Regions from separate parts of the Homo sapiens genome. Here all the other regions are linked to region 3. Evidence: promoter capture Hi-C in 16 types of primary human blood cells and fetal thymus (Javierre and others, 2016). All regions are on one chromosome and are shown on one strand. The core of a region is centred on a gene start or on the middle of the fragment in contact, and the rest is flanking DNA. Distances in the headings are between cores, read along the strand shown. Region 1 has its middle 240 kb from the start of LINC02475. Region 2 has its middle 230 kb from the start of LINC02475. Region 3 holds the start of KCTD8 (potassium channel tetramerization domain containing 8).

Evidence for each region. The method cuts DNA at HindIII sites, captures the fragments that hold promoters and counts their contacts. A CHiCAGO score of 5 or more calls a contact.
Region 1: a fragment that was not itself captured here is called in contact with the fragment with the promoter of KCTD8 in region 3 in 1 of 17 cell types (endothelial precursors); the score reaches 7.1 in endothelial precursors.
Region 2: a fragment that was not itself captured here is called in contact with the fragment with the promoter of KCTD8 in region 3 in 1 of 17 cell types (endothelial precursors); the score reaches 5.6 in endothelial precursors.

The regions. Positions count from the first base shown.
Region 1 is chr4:43,769,761-43,774,526 of GRCh38, forward strand. No RefSeq gene overlaps it. Among named protein-coding and RNA genes, the nearest start is that of LINC02475, 240 kb to the right of the region's middle. The HindIII fragment of the contact is 983 bases long and covers 2,087-3,069 here.
Region 2 is chr4:43,786,685-43,791,327 of GRCh38, forward strand. No RefSeq gene overlaps it. Among named protein-coding and RNA genes, the nearest start is that of LINC02475, 230 kb to the right of the region's middle. The HindIII fragment of the contact is 2,508 bases long and covers 784-3,291 here.
Region 3 is chr4:44,446,595-44,451,153 of GRCh38, forward strand. KCTD8 (potassium channel tetramerization domain containing 8) reads right to left here and starts at 2,215. Exons shown (of 2, transcript NM_198353.3): 1 at 969-2,215. The coding sequence starts at 1,929. The HindIII fragment of the contact is 5,511 bases long and covers 1-4,559 here.

The DNA of each region.
Region 1 (4,766 bases), core at 1,328-3,827, 680 kb before region 3:
CACAAATTTCTTAGAAGGAGCAATCCCAAGTTACTGTAGGCACAATTCAAAAATAAAAACAATAATCACTGGAGGAGTGATTATTTGAATACAATCTTATGGAAATTCAATAGTAAAATAGCCAGAGCAAGATAATAACATTAATTACTACTGTTTGGAATATTAATTGTTTGGCTTTTTATAAACTTTTCTGTTCATTTTTACTTTTGTTTACTTTTCTGTTCATGACCTACTCTTTGTTAGCCAGAGACTTCCACGTGCCTTTTAGAAGAATTAGGATTGCTGCAAAAGCAATAAAAACAGAATCAATGCCCAGTTTATGACTTCTAAAACCAGCATTTATGTACTTATTTTTGAAAGCCGAAGTTTTTTCTTGTTTTTGTTTTTTGTTGTTGTTGTTTGTTTGTTTTGAGACAGAGTTGCACTCTGTCATCCAGGCTGGAGTGCAGTGGTGAGATCTTGGCTCACTGCAACCTCTGCCTCCTGGGTTCAAGCTATTCTCCAGCCTCAGCCTCCTGAGTAGCTGGGATTACAGGCACCTGCTACCATGATCAGCTAATTTTTGTATTTTTAGTAGAGATGGGGTTTCACCATTTTGGCCAGGCTGGTCTCAAACTCCTGACCTCAAGTGATCTGCCTGCCTCGGCCTCCCAAAGTGCTGGGATTATAGGCATGAGCCACAGCACCCAGTCGAAAGCCAAAGTTTTTAATTATATTTATGTTCTCTATGATTTATCAAGACATGGAGTAAGATAGTGTTTATGAAATGATAATGGAATTCAAGAAGAGACGGCATCCCCTTTTCTTAAGAAATCAGATAAAAATTACCTAGAAGTCAAGTAAGAAAGAAGAGCTGGTTTGGGCTTAGCCTTTGTAAAGTTCACAAGGAACATCCAAGACCCAAAAATGGTGGTTTTGAGTGAGGCTCACTTAAATTTCACACAAAATACATTCAGGGTTCTAGGCTACTGCAGTGATCTGACTAGTTTTGTGTGTGAACCTGAGCTTTCGCACTTGCCCATGTTATAACCACATTGCTACCTCTCTGTCTCTTTCAACTAAGTGCAGTGAAATTGGTGGCAGGCATTTTTTTACAAAAGATAGCTCAAGCCAGCCATCTAACTTTACAACTCAAGGAACCAGAAAACATAAACTATGCTGAAAAATAGCAGAAAGGAGGAAACAATAGAGATTAGAAGATAGAACAATAAAGTAGGGAAAAAATCAATAGAAAATATCAAGGAAACCAAAAGTTGGTTCTATGAAAAGACTGTTAAAATTTAAAAGCCATTACCTAGTTACACTAAGAAAATAAGAGAGAAGATCCCTAATACTAAAATCAGAAACTACCACCAATTCTACAGAAATAGAAAGGATTATAAAAGTACTAAGAACAATTGTATACCAACAAACTCAACTTAGATGAAATGGGCAAACTGCTATTAACGCAAAACTTACCAAGACTAAATCACAAAGAAATTAAAAAATCTGAATATGCCTATAGCTAATAAGGATATTGAATAATCAAAAAACAACCTTCCAATAAAGAAAAGTCCTGGGCCTGATGGCTTAACTGGTAAATTCTACCAAACATTTAAAGAGCTAACACCATTACTTCAATTTTTTTTCAAGAAATTGAAGAGGAAATACTTGCTAAATTTTTCTATGAGGTCAGCATGACCCTGATTCCAAAGCCAGAAAAAGACACTATACTAAAAATGAAAATATAGGCCAATGTCCCCTATAAACATTGATGCCAAAATCCTCAACAAAATACTAGCAAATCAAATCAGCAGCATATTAAAAGGAATATATACATCATATCAAGTGAGATTTATTCCTGGAACACAAAGATGGTTCAATGTATGAAAATTGACCAATATACCATACTGCAATAACAGAATGAGGTAGAAAAATAGACATGATCATTTCAAATGATGCAGAAAATGCATTGACAAAATACAACACCCTTTCATGATAAAAACAGTAAACAAAGTTGGAATATAACAAAGCTGCCTAAATATAAAAAAAAGTTATGTATAATAAAAAACACCGTAAATGTCATATTCCATGGGAGACAACCGAAAGCTTTTCTTATAAGATCAGGAATAAAGTAAAGGACATTTAACTAGAAAAGAAGAAATAAAATTATCCGTGTTTGCAGATGATATGATCTTATATGCAGAAATCCATAAAGAATCCACAGAAAAACTTTTACAACTAATAAATAAATTCAGCAAAGTAGCGGGATACAAAGTCAACACATGCAAAAATCAGTTGCAATACTATACACTGGCAATAAACAATAAATAAGCTGGAAAGAAAATTAGGAAAAGAATTTTGCATCCAAGGGAATCAAAAAGAACAATGTTTAGCAATTAACTTAAACAAGACTTGTACAATGAAAACTTGAACATGTTGCTAAAAGAAATTGGAGCCATAAATAAATGGAAGTGTATCACATAACAATGGATTGGAAGAGTTAATATTATTAAGATGTCAATACTGCCCCCCAAAAATAAATGGAAGTGTATCCCATAACTATGGATTGGAAGAGTTAATATTAAGTTGTCAATACTACCCAAAACAATCTACAAATTTAATGCAATCCCTATAAAAATCCCAATAATGATTTTTGCAGAAATTAAAATAAAATCTTAAAATTTATTTGAAATCCCAGGAGATGTTGAATAACCAAAACAATTTTGAGAAACAAAGCTGGAGAACTTATACTTCCTGATTTCAAAACACAACAAAACAATGATATGGTAGTCAAAACAGTGTGGTACTAACATAATGACAGACGTATAGACCAATGGAATAAAATAGAGATTCCAGAAATAAACCCTTACATATGTATCCAAATAACTTGTCACAAGGGTGCCAAAAACATTCAATAGGAATGACCAGTCAATTCAACAAAAGGTGCTGTGAAAACTGGATATCCACGTGCAAAAGAATGAAGCTGGACACCATATATAACACCATATATAAAAATTAACTCAAAATGGATCAAAGACTTACACTTAAGAGCTAAAAATATAAAACTCTTGGAAAAAACAGGGCAAAAGCTTCAAAGGTTGAATTTGTCAATGATTTCCTGGATACAACACTAAATTTTGTTTTCCTTTTGGCAAACAAAATTTGGCAACAAAAGAGAAGCTAGAAAAATATGACTTCATGAAAATTTAAAAATTTTGTGTGTTAAAAACCACAAAGAGCAGAACAAAAAAGCTACCTAGAGAATGAAAAATATTTGGAAATCATATATCTGATAAGAGATTAATAGCCAGAATATATTAATAACTCCTGAAAACTTAACAAAAAGCAAACAACCTCAAACAACCTGATTCAATAATAGACAAAGGACTATTAAAAGTGATGCTTGGCCAGGCACGGTGGCTCACACCTGTAATTCCAGCACTTTGGGAGGCCGAGGCGGGAGGATCACCTGAGGTCGGGAGTTTGAGACTAACCTGACCAACATGGAGAAACCCCATCTCTACTAAAAATACAAAATTAATCAGGCATGGTGTCACATGTCTGTAATCCCAGCTGCTCAGGAGGCTGAGGCAGGAAAATCGCTTGAACCCAGGAGGCGGAGGTTGCAGTGAGCCCAGATCGCACCACTGCACTCCACCCTGGTCAACAAGAGCTAAACTCCATCTCAAAAAGTGATGCTCAACATCACTAATAATTAGGGAAATGCAAATCAAAACTACAGTGACATAATACATCATAAACATTAGTATGGCTACCATTAAAATAACAGAAAAGTGTTGGTGATAATATCGAGTACTTCATACTCTTGTGCATTGGTTGTGGGAATGTGAAATGGTAGTCACTGTGGAAAACATTATAGTGGTTGCTCAAAACATCTAAAAAAATTACCATATGATCCAGCAATTCCACTGTTGGGTACATACCCGAAATAATTAAAATCTAGGTCTCCAAGAGACATTTGCACACTCATTTTCATAACAGCATTATTCAAAATAGTTAAATTGTGAGAAAAACCCAAGTGTTCATCAGTAGATGAATGAATAAATAGAGTGTACTATATACAGAGACAATGGAATATTATCCAGCCATTAAATAGAAGCAAATTTTGACACATGCTACAACATGGTTGAAACTTGAGGGCGTTCTGCTAAATGAAATAAGTCATTACAAAAAGGTCAACCCTTATGATTCCACTTCCATGAGATACATACTTAGAATAGTCCAAGTCATAGAGGCTAAGGGTAGAATAGTAGTTACCAGGGACTGGAGGAAGGTAGGAATGGGGAGATTTGTTTAATGTGTACAGAGTCTCAGTTTTGAAAGATAAAATGATTTCTGGAGATGGATAGTGGTGATGGTTACACAGTACTATGAATGTTAATACCACACAATTCTACACTTAAAAAGGGTTAAGATGGTAAATTTTATATTATGTGTATTTTACCACGATAAAAATATTGACAAAAGAAATACAGGTTGAGCCATTCCCAAAAACTAGCTGACACTTGGTACCCAGCCCATGGAAGGGTTGGGGTGATGGCTTTGGATGCCAGCAGGGGAAGGAGGTGTTGTGAACAAGGTAAAGGATGCCTGCTTGGGTAATGTGGCGTGGAAAACAGGGGTTCAGCCAGCATTATCTGATCACAACCTAGGAATGTAGTAATTGTGGCCTAAAGAGTTCTAGAGAAGATATGGCTGAACAATGTGTTATTTTGCGTTTACAGTATTATGTTAAAACTAAATTTAACATAGTCATGAAATGA
Region 2 (4,643 bases), core at 788-3,287, 660 kb before region 3:
CTGCCAAAACCTTGATGTTAGCCGAGTGATATTTGACCTCTAGAAATGTAAGAGAATAAAACTGTGTTGTTTTGTTCTACTAAATTTTGGGGATTTGTTACTACAGCAATAAGAAAATACTGCCAACACAAAATAGGCTGATAAAAATGAACACAGCCTCAGGGACCTGTGGAACAATGACAAAGGACCCCCAATTATATTATCAGAGTTCCGGAGGAGTGGAGAAAAAAGATGAGCTAGAAAAGTATTTGGAGTAATAATGGCTGAAAACTTCCAAAATCTGGCAGAAGACATATAGCAACAGAGTCAAGAAGCTGTGTGAACCTCAAATACATTTACATCAATATAATATCATAATTAAACTTCTGAAAACTAAAAACAAAGAAAAAAGTCTTGAAATCATTGAGAGAAATGACACATTACTTCTAGGAAACAAAAAATCTATTAATTTTGAATTATCTAAATGGCAAACAGTAGGAATAAAAGGGAAAATATATTAGATACAAGACAACTAAAATAATTTGTTGCCATAAGACTTACTCTTAACGATTGGCTAAAGAAAATTATTTTTAAAAAAGAAATGATAAAATAAGGAAATTCGAGAACAAGACAGATCAATGAAAAGTGAAGAAATATTAATATATAAAATAAAATTTATCATATGAGTTTTATAAATCATACCTAATCAAAATCTAATCATATGTAAACAAATTACAATACCATCTGATACTCAAGGTAATGATATTTAAAAGTGGGAAACGTAAAGAAATCTAAAGGGAAGTAAGCTTTTCCCACTCCACTTGAACAAATAAAATGCTGATACCAACAGACTCTGATAATTCACATATATACATTGCAATACCCAGAGCAATCACATTCAAATATAATATAACAAAATCAAGAAAGGATCCAGGAAAATGTCTAGGTAATCTACACAATTGCAAAAAAAAAAAAAAAAAAAAAAAAAAAAAGAAAAGAAAAGAAAAAAAAAGGAATAAGAAACAGAGAAAACAAATAATATAAAGTAACAAAATCAAGTTCTAACATATCACTAATTGCCTTAAGTATAAATGACCTGAATATACCAAATGACAGAGATTGACAGAGTGGATTAACAAAAAAAAAAAAAAAAGAAGATGATGTATCCATTTACTGTCTATAAGGAACTGACTTCAAATTCAATTACATGGGTTGGTTAAAATTAAAGGGTGGAAAGTCATATACTAGCCAAACACTAATTTACAAAGAGCAGCAGAGGTTACATTAATAAATTAGTACAGCCATTACGGAAAAAATAATTGGCAGTTCCTTAAAAACACCAAACGTGCAATGACAATACTACCCAATAATTACACACTTGGCCATTAATCCCAGAAAAATGATAATTTAGGTTCACAAAAAAATCTGTGCACAAATATCCATAGCTTTTTTCATAATAGTAAAAAAAAACAGAAACAGCCAAATATGCTTGAATTAGTAAATATAATTAAGTGGGAAAAAGCTAACTTAAAAAGGCTGCATATTATATTATTTTATTTATATAATATTTTTGAAATGGAAAAATATATATAGAAATGGAGAACTATGAACTAGAGGTTTCCCAGTTGTAAGAAGGAGGAGGGGAAAGCAAAAGAGAAGTGGATATGATTATAAAAGGGCAATGCAAGACATCCCTGTGGTGACAATAGTGTTTTGTAATTTGATTTCATGGTGAATATATGAACCTACACATGAGATAAATTTGCATAAACACATAAATGATTAAAAGTAAAACTGGAGAGAGTTGAGTAAGTTGTGCATTCTAACATTGTTAATATCCTAGTTATGATATTACACTATAGTTTTTCAAGATGTTACAACTGGGGGAAACTGACTGAAGTCTAAACAAGGCTCACCTGTATTATTTGTAAAAACTACATGTGAATCTACAACTTTACAAAATAAATGGTGTAATTAAAATTAAATGGGCATGTGTGTATATATTTAAAATTCTCCCGTTTGCCTTATTGATTCATGTGTTATTTAAAATTCTGATGTTTAATTTCAAAATAATTGAAAATTTTGTAGGTATTTTAATATCATTGATTTCTAGCATATTTTACATTATTTCAGTCTTTTTAAATATGTTGAGATTTGTTTTATGGTCCAGTTTTGCTTTTTTTTTTTTTTTTCTTTTTTTTTTGAGATGGAGTCTCACTGTCTTGCCCAGGCCGGAGTGCAGTGGCACAATCTCGGCTCACTGCAAGCTCCGCCTCCTGGGTTCACGCCATTCTCCTGCCTCAGCCTCCCGAGTAGCTGGGACTACAGGCGCCCACCACCATGCCCAGCTAATTTTTTGTATTTTTAGCAGAGACGGGGTTTCACCTTGTTAGCCAGGATGGTCTCGATCTCCTGACCTAGTGATCCGCCCCCCTTGACCTCCCAAAGTGCTGGGATTACAGGCATGAGCGCCCGGCCAAGTTTTGCTTTTTTATGGCAGGAGGACCAATCCTTCCCATAATTTGAACTAATATGTTCTTATTCAAGAGTTCTCTTTTTAAGCACATAATTTCAGAAGACTTTTTCAGAATCTCTAATCAACTAAACGGTCATGAGTAAGAGTCAGTACACTGAAATAAGTGATTGGATATAAGTCCTGGTTTCATCATTTTTTAGGTGTATGAGATTTAACTTATGATATTAAGGTGCTATATTTTTTTCTAGTGCAAAATATATCACTACATTTACAATGTGAAGAACATTATTTTGAAATGTACAAAACAGTTACACTAAGCATGTAGTGTTTGTTCCTAAAGATGTTCCTAAACAAACAGCTAAATGAGAATCTCTTTTGAGGTATTAATTTCATCTCACCAAAGCATTAATTTGCGACGTTGGGATACTAGATGCAAGATTCTATGCATTTCTTTTGTCATCTGGGTTTTGAAATATCTTGCTTTTCAAAAATTCTATTCTGATTTGTTTAAACCATAACTCTACTATGTGTTTCTTATTATATATCTGTCTTCATTTTCACTTATGTTGTGGAAGACTGACAGATTTCCTTTGCACACATCGATATAACTCATTACTACTAGCATTACTGCTGCTTATCCATCTTGCTCCAGTCCTCATTGCTGTTGCACTTTCCTCATCAGCTTCCTTCTTCCTTTTGCTAGTACTGCTGATTTTCCCTATCTCACCAATGAGTCACATCCTCAAGGTGCTGGCATATTTCAGACATCTCTACCTTATTCAAGACTTTTCCATTTTATAAATTTTGATCAGCCCTATTTAACTTCATAGTGGGCAAGCTTTAACTAGCTCTTATAAATGTGTATTATTTGAGATGAGAAACAGGTTCCCAGAAAGCACTGCCAAAAAATCATCCAGAAGTCAAATGTTAATTATATCTATTATTTCAAATTTTTATTATGAACATTTTGAAAAACACAAGTAGCAGAGAGTAATCTAGTTAAATTCATATACCCTTCACCCAGCCTCAACAAATTTAAACAACTGGCCAATTTTGTTTTATCTATTATCTATACGCACCAAATTATCCTTGTTTCCCTTTCTGTTAGTTTAAAACAAATTCTAGCCACTATATCATTTTACCCATAATACTTTAGTATGAGAACTATTGAAGAAAAAACTTTTACTTAATATAACCCTATCTGGATTAAAACAATTTACAATAATAATTATTAAATATTATAAATATATGTTATATCATCCCTGATTATAAAACAGTAAGTTATAACCAAGGGAAACATATATTGCCATTTTTAATTTTAAAACTTGTACTAACCTATTATAATACATTTTATACACATCTATTCTATTCATTTTCAAATCATGCGGTTAGTATTAAAATCCACCAAATATATTACATACAGCATATTCAAGTTTTGTAAAAGATTTCACATCACTATTTTCATTTTGTGAGGTGAGTTATATATAACTAAGAAAAATTTAGAGTCAATCTAATTTTATCTAGGCTTGCAGTCATATTCGTCTTTCACTCTTAACACCACTTGGTAGTAAGGTCTTTAAAATGTGTATTTCCTTAGTAAATTAGTAAAGGGTATGGAATTTGTCACATTTTGCAGATGAAGAAACTGAGGCTCAGGAAATACTTAATATAAGTAATAAATGGAAAAGCCAGCTTTTATACCCTGATGTCTTTTCAGCCCATTATGATGACTTTTTCCTGTGTAATTGTGATGGTAATATTAAATCGCATTGTTTCTTCTACACCAGCCATGGTACCAAATGTCACCAGAGAGAACTTAGTAATGGCCATAATTTCAAAGATAGAAACTCTGAAGTAAAAGCAAAATTCTTCATTTCATTTTACCTTCCAGTAGTTTTTCCTTAAAACTATTCAATAGAGACATTAGTCTATCACCCAAAACTCCTTGACTCCACCTAAACTCTATTAATGACTACAGTGATCAGTGCATACTTTTCCTCACAATGAGGTGTTTAAATTGATTTTAGAATCAACTCTGATGCATGTCCAAGGAGTTCCTAAATATTCTCAATTACATCTCTTCCAGGTCTTATGAATACATCCCCCATTTCACTGAATTTTTTAAAAAACAACTCTATGCAAAGGAAAACTATATGTGTTATATGGTATATAAAAATGATTAAGTACT
Region 3 (4,559 bases), core at 965-3,464:
TCCACATAGCCCGCTCCGGAAGCGCACTGCAAAACGCACCCCAGATGCTTTCCCAAATCTATTCCTTCATTCTCTCATTTCAGAAAATCGCTCTATTTATTCACCCTGAGAAAGTGGACTCAACCCCCGCTTTCGCGCTGGAGAAGGAAACACAATCATTCTCTCTTTCTCTTCCCCTCCCTCCCCAACACCTTCCCTCCCTCCTCCCTTGCCCCTCCTAATCTCCAACCCTAAGAGCAGCACTCAGACATGCAAACTTTCTAATTCCTTCCACCCTCCCCTGTCCCAAACACTGGGCAATTAGACTGGAGATAACAGACGCAGGGAAATCTGGGTTTCCATCTGTCAAGGAGTCCCCTTTCCCCACACCCGCTCTCATGCCCCCGCCCCCTCGAGGGGCTCTGGGGGCACCTTTATCGCTTCTCCCCTGCCCTCTAGAAAACCACCCGTAACTGGAGGCTCCCGCGCGGCAGCTGCACCAACAGCAGGTGATCCAGGTGGTGCGAGGCGATGCCTTGTTATGGCATCCTGCCCTCTGCAGGGACACCACTGAGGGCCACATGAAATGACCCCCAGCAGTCCTGCAAAAGCAAAGGGGTGGAGGAGGGTCTATGCACCCTGCCCTGTGCCCCAGTCTCTCCCACCCTGTCCTCCGCAACCGAGGAGACCCTGGCATCTGGGAGCGGGCTGGGCCGAGAAGGCAAGATCAATAAAGTTCAGCAAGTAGACAGCTGGGAGCTGGGTGCTACTGAGTTCTAGAAAGGGGGAGTAGAGACGGAAATATCCGAATCGGTGAAATGTAAATCGTGTCTACTGCATAAGGGAATCGTGCAGGGAGAGCCGCTCTCTATAAGGAGTTAACCAGCGCCTGCCCCGGACACCCCCGCGGGGCCTCCAGCGGGGCTCAAACTGGCGGCGGCTCAGCAGGGGGCGAGGGGTGCTGGGAAACGCCGGGGCTGCGAACTTACGGAAGAAAATGTACTCGGTGTAGCTGCTCCAGATCTTGTCGTCGCGGTACTGGTTGACGAAGGCGGCGGTGCCCGAGGAGTTACACGCCACCATGTGGAAGCCGGCCTCGGACAGGCGATCAAAGGCCTGCTCCAAGTAGGTGAACTTGAGGTAGAAGCGGGACGTGTACTTCTCCGGCTGCCGGTCGGGGTCGCGGCTCTCGTTGAGCGTGTCCCCGAAGACCTCCTTGGCCAGCGCGATGCGCCCGCACACCATGATGCGCGCCACACGCCGGAATTTGGCGTCGGCCTGGTTGTCGCGCACGGTGGTGTAGGAGCCCCGGTAGCCCAGCGTGAGGAAGCCCGAGCGCTTGTCCTGCGCGCCGCCGCCGCCGCCACCACCGTGCGCTCCCGGGCCCGAGGGCACGGCGGCCGCCGCCCCGCGCAGCAGCAGCGCGTCGCTGCTACCCTGCGAGACGTTGTCCTCCAGGTCGCTCTGGCAGCCCTCGTCGTTGAGAGAGTTCTGCTTGGTGACCTTGGGCGACAGCAGCTTGACCAAGTCGGTGAGCTGGAAATACTCGGCCTCGCGCAGCAGCCGCTCCTTCTCGGGGAAGTGCTCCGGCAGCGCGAGTTGCTTGTCCCGCAGATAATCCAGCACGTACCTGAAAAGGAAGCCGTCCCGGTCGATGAAGAAGCGCGCCCGGCTGTCCCTGGGCAGCTCGCCCCGGCGCCGGGCGCCGCCACGGGGACTAGAGGGCGAGAACATGCTGGCCAAAGTACTGTCCGGGACGCTGAGCAGCGTCGAGTGCTTGGTCACATAAACCTGGCCGCCTACGTTCAGCTCCACTACTTCAGGGAAGGGCGAGGGTGCGCAGGGCCCCGGGGCGGCGGCGGCCGACGCGCCGGGCGAGCTGGACGAGGAAACCATCTCGCTAATGGGCAGGATGGTGCTGCCGCCGCTGCCCGTGTCCTTCAGAGCCATAGTCCCCCCGCCGCCGGCCCAGTGACCCGAGAGAGCTGCACTTTCTCGTTCCCGGAGCCCGCGCCCCAGCCCTCCGCGTGCTCCTGGCGCTCTGCGCCCTCGGACTGGGCGGCGCGTTCCTCCGACCGGGGCGGCCCCGCTCAGGGTTCGGGGCAGCGGCGGCGTCGGCGGCGCCCGAGCTCCATCGGAGGAGAGACGCGCGAGAGAGGAGCTCCGCCGGTGCGGCGGCGGCAATGGAGAGGCAAGAAGGAGCTGCTGCTCCTTTGGGGCGAGGGCGGGGAAGTGTGAGAGAGACTTGCGAGAGGCTCTAGGGCTGCTGCTCGGCTCTCCGTGGGGAGGGCGGGAGGAGGGGCCGAAGCAAAGAAAACTCGCCGCCCCGGCAGCTTGCAAGCGTGCCGCGAGGCCGGAGCGCCGACGGTGGCGCTAACTACTCCTGGCAGCACGGGAGGAGGCACTGACGTCAAGCCCCGGACTGGGACCCGAGCCTCAGCTGTCATTTAAAGAGATAGGCTGCAGCCGCGGCTCCCGGGCTCCGACGCTAGGGGGCGGGGCCGAGAGCCGAGCCTGCAAGAGGTGCAGCTCCCCGACCCGCGGGGACAGGCAGGCAGGGAGCTCCTAAAGCAAAAGCGAGAAAAAGGGACAGCGCTCTCATTCCTTCATTTCACTCCCTCCTTGGGTCTGTGCCACCCCCTTTCCTCCCTCCTTTCCTTCTTCTCTTCCTTCCTTCCTTGCCTCCCTCCCCAGTAAAACTAGTTTTTTGCACTTTCATTAAGGTAAGGAGTGGAGGAGCGGAGAGGGGAGAATAAGGTTTTGATTATAGCAAAGATGCCAGGCTCCTAATCTGAAATCACCACAAATGTTGGCTTGCCAGCAGTGATTGCAAAAAGATTACGTGAGGGTGGGAAGGTACATCTCTTGTAGTGGCTTTATGATACAGTTTAAGTGAAGGGCTAAATGCGCGTACCTCTCTTGGAATCAAATTTCACGACTGCGTGCACTGAATATCCTTGAATAATTTTTAAAACTTTGTAATCTGCTTTCAGTTCACAATAATAAAGGAGTGTATGTAACAACTGTTTCCTTCCGACATTTTTACAATTTTTAGTTTTAAATTAGATGCTTAATAAATGTTTATAGAGGGAGAGACGGAGCCCGAGAGGAAATTTACTCGATTTGTTCATTCTTTCTAATCCTGATCAGTCTCATTAATCTCTCCATTTCCCTTTCAGCTCCATCAAACAAGAGAAGTGGCTGATATTTTTATTAGTCTTCTAACCCCAAGAGTAAGGTCACAAATAAAAATTATATGAATTTAAGCTCACCTTAATTTCCATGTGTACATAGTACAGGTACAGTCTGCAAAATGAGCATTACTTGTGATAAAGACTGAAAATAGGAAAGCAAATGAGAAATATTTCTTCTACCCTGGGGCATACATCTGTGTTCAGAAACATAAAGAATCATTGATTTATGAAGTACAAAAGAGAAAAGGGTGTATTGTGGCACAAAGTAGTTTGCTTCAATTATCATAACAATATTACAGATGAACTTTATCCATTAGCAGTCGATATACAGATTTTAATATTTTTTAAAAAGTTAAATGCCTACTAACAACTCCTTTTCTTCAAACCACCCAAAAAAGTATCAAATTTCAGATACGGTTGTAAATTAATACATTATTTTTGGAACATTACAAATTATGTTTAAATCATTGATCCTTATAAGCTGCATCCATAGACAATGTTATACCAATTTTGAAGTTGCATTATATGAAGCAGAGAGAACCTAATGGACCAATGAAAGAACAGAATATATTTGCCAAAGGACTGAGACTTAAAACGGGGGTTTCGGTATGCATCATCATGCAATCCTTTTACTCAAAACTATTGTGTCCTGCCAAATTTATAAACTGATTGATCAAATTAACTAATTTAATTGATTTAGCCTTCATTTAAAAGTTAAAACCAAGTATTAAAATAACAGAAAAAATACACTATTTTCTGCCTCATTAGAAGAATATTCGGGATTTAAAGTAATCGTTCCTGGATAAATGAATTAATAGATGCTTTATAATCTTCATAGATGAATATATAATAATGCCTCAAACCACTACTAGTGAAGCCCATTTATCATAAGGTAAGTGTCCCTAATGATAAGTAAGGTGCAGACTGTAGAACTGTAATGAAGTGGATATATAATAAATATGCATGTGAATATGAAGTCGCTAATATCAGGTTGAAATCCATCTTTACTTTTGAATTAAATAAATTATGTCTATAAGATAAAGTGATCAAAAATTTATACTCTAAATGAATCATCTCAAAAATTCACAATGAATTGTATTGTTTGATATATTCCTTTTTAAAATGATTCCTTCAACTTGATTAAACATTTTTTCTTAATTTCTTCTCTCTTCACACTCCTATTACTCTCCTCTGTCTCCCAGTTATACCCTTCAACCAAACTCAGACTGAACAAATTGCAGATCTACAATGTTTCTATCTTTCCTCTTCCTTCTGCTAGGAATGCCCTTCCTCTTCCACCAGATCCCTAACCCATTCTCCCTGCTTACCAATTTCCTCCAGCTCTTAGTTTAAATATCACTTTCTCTAGAAATCTTTACATTCACT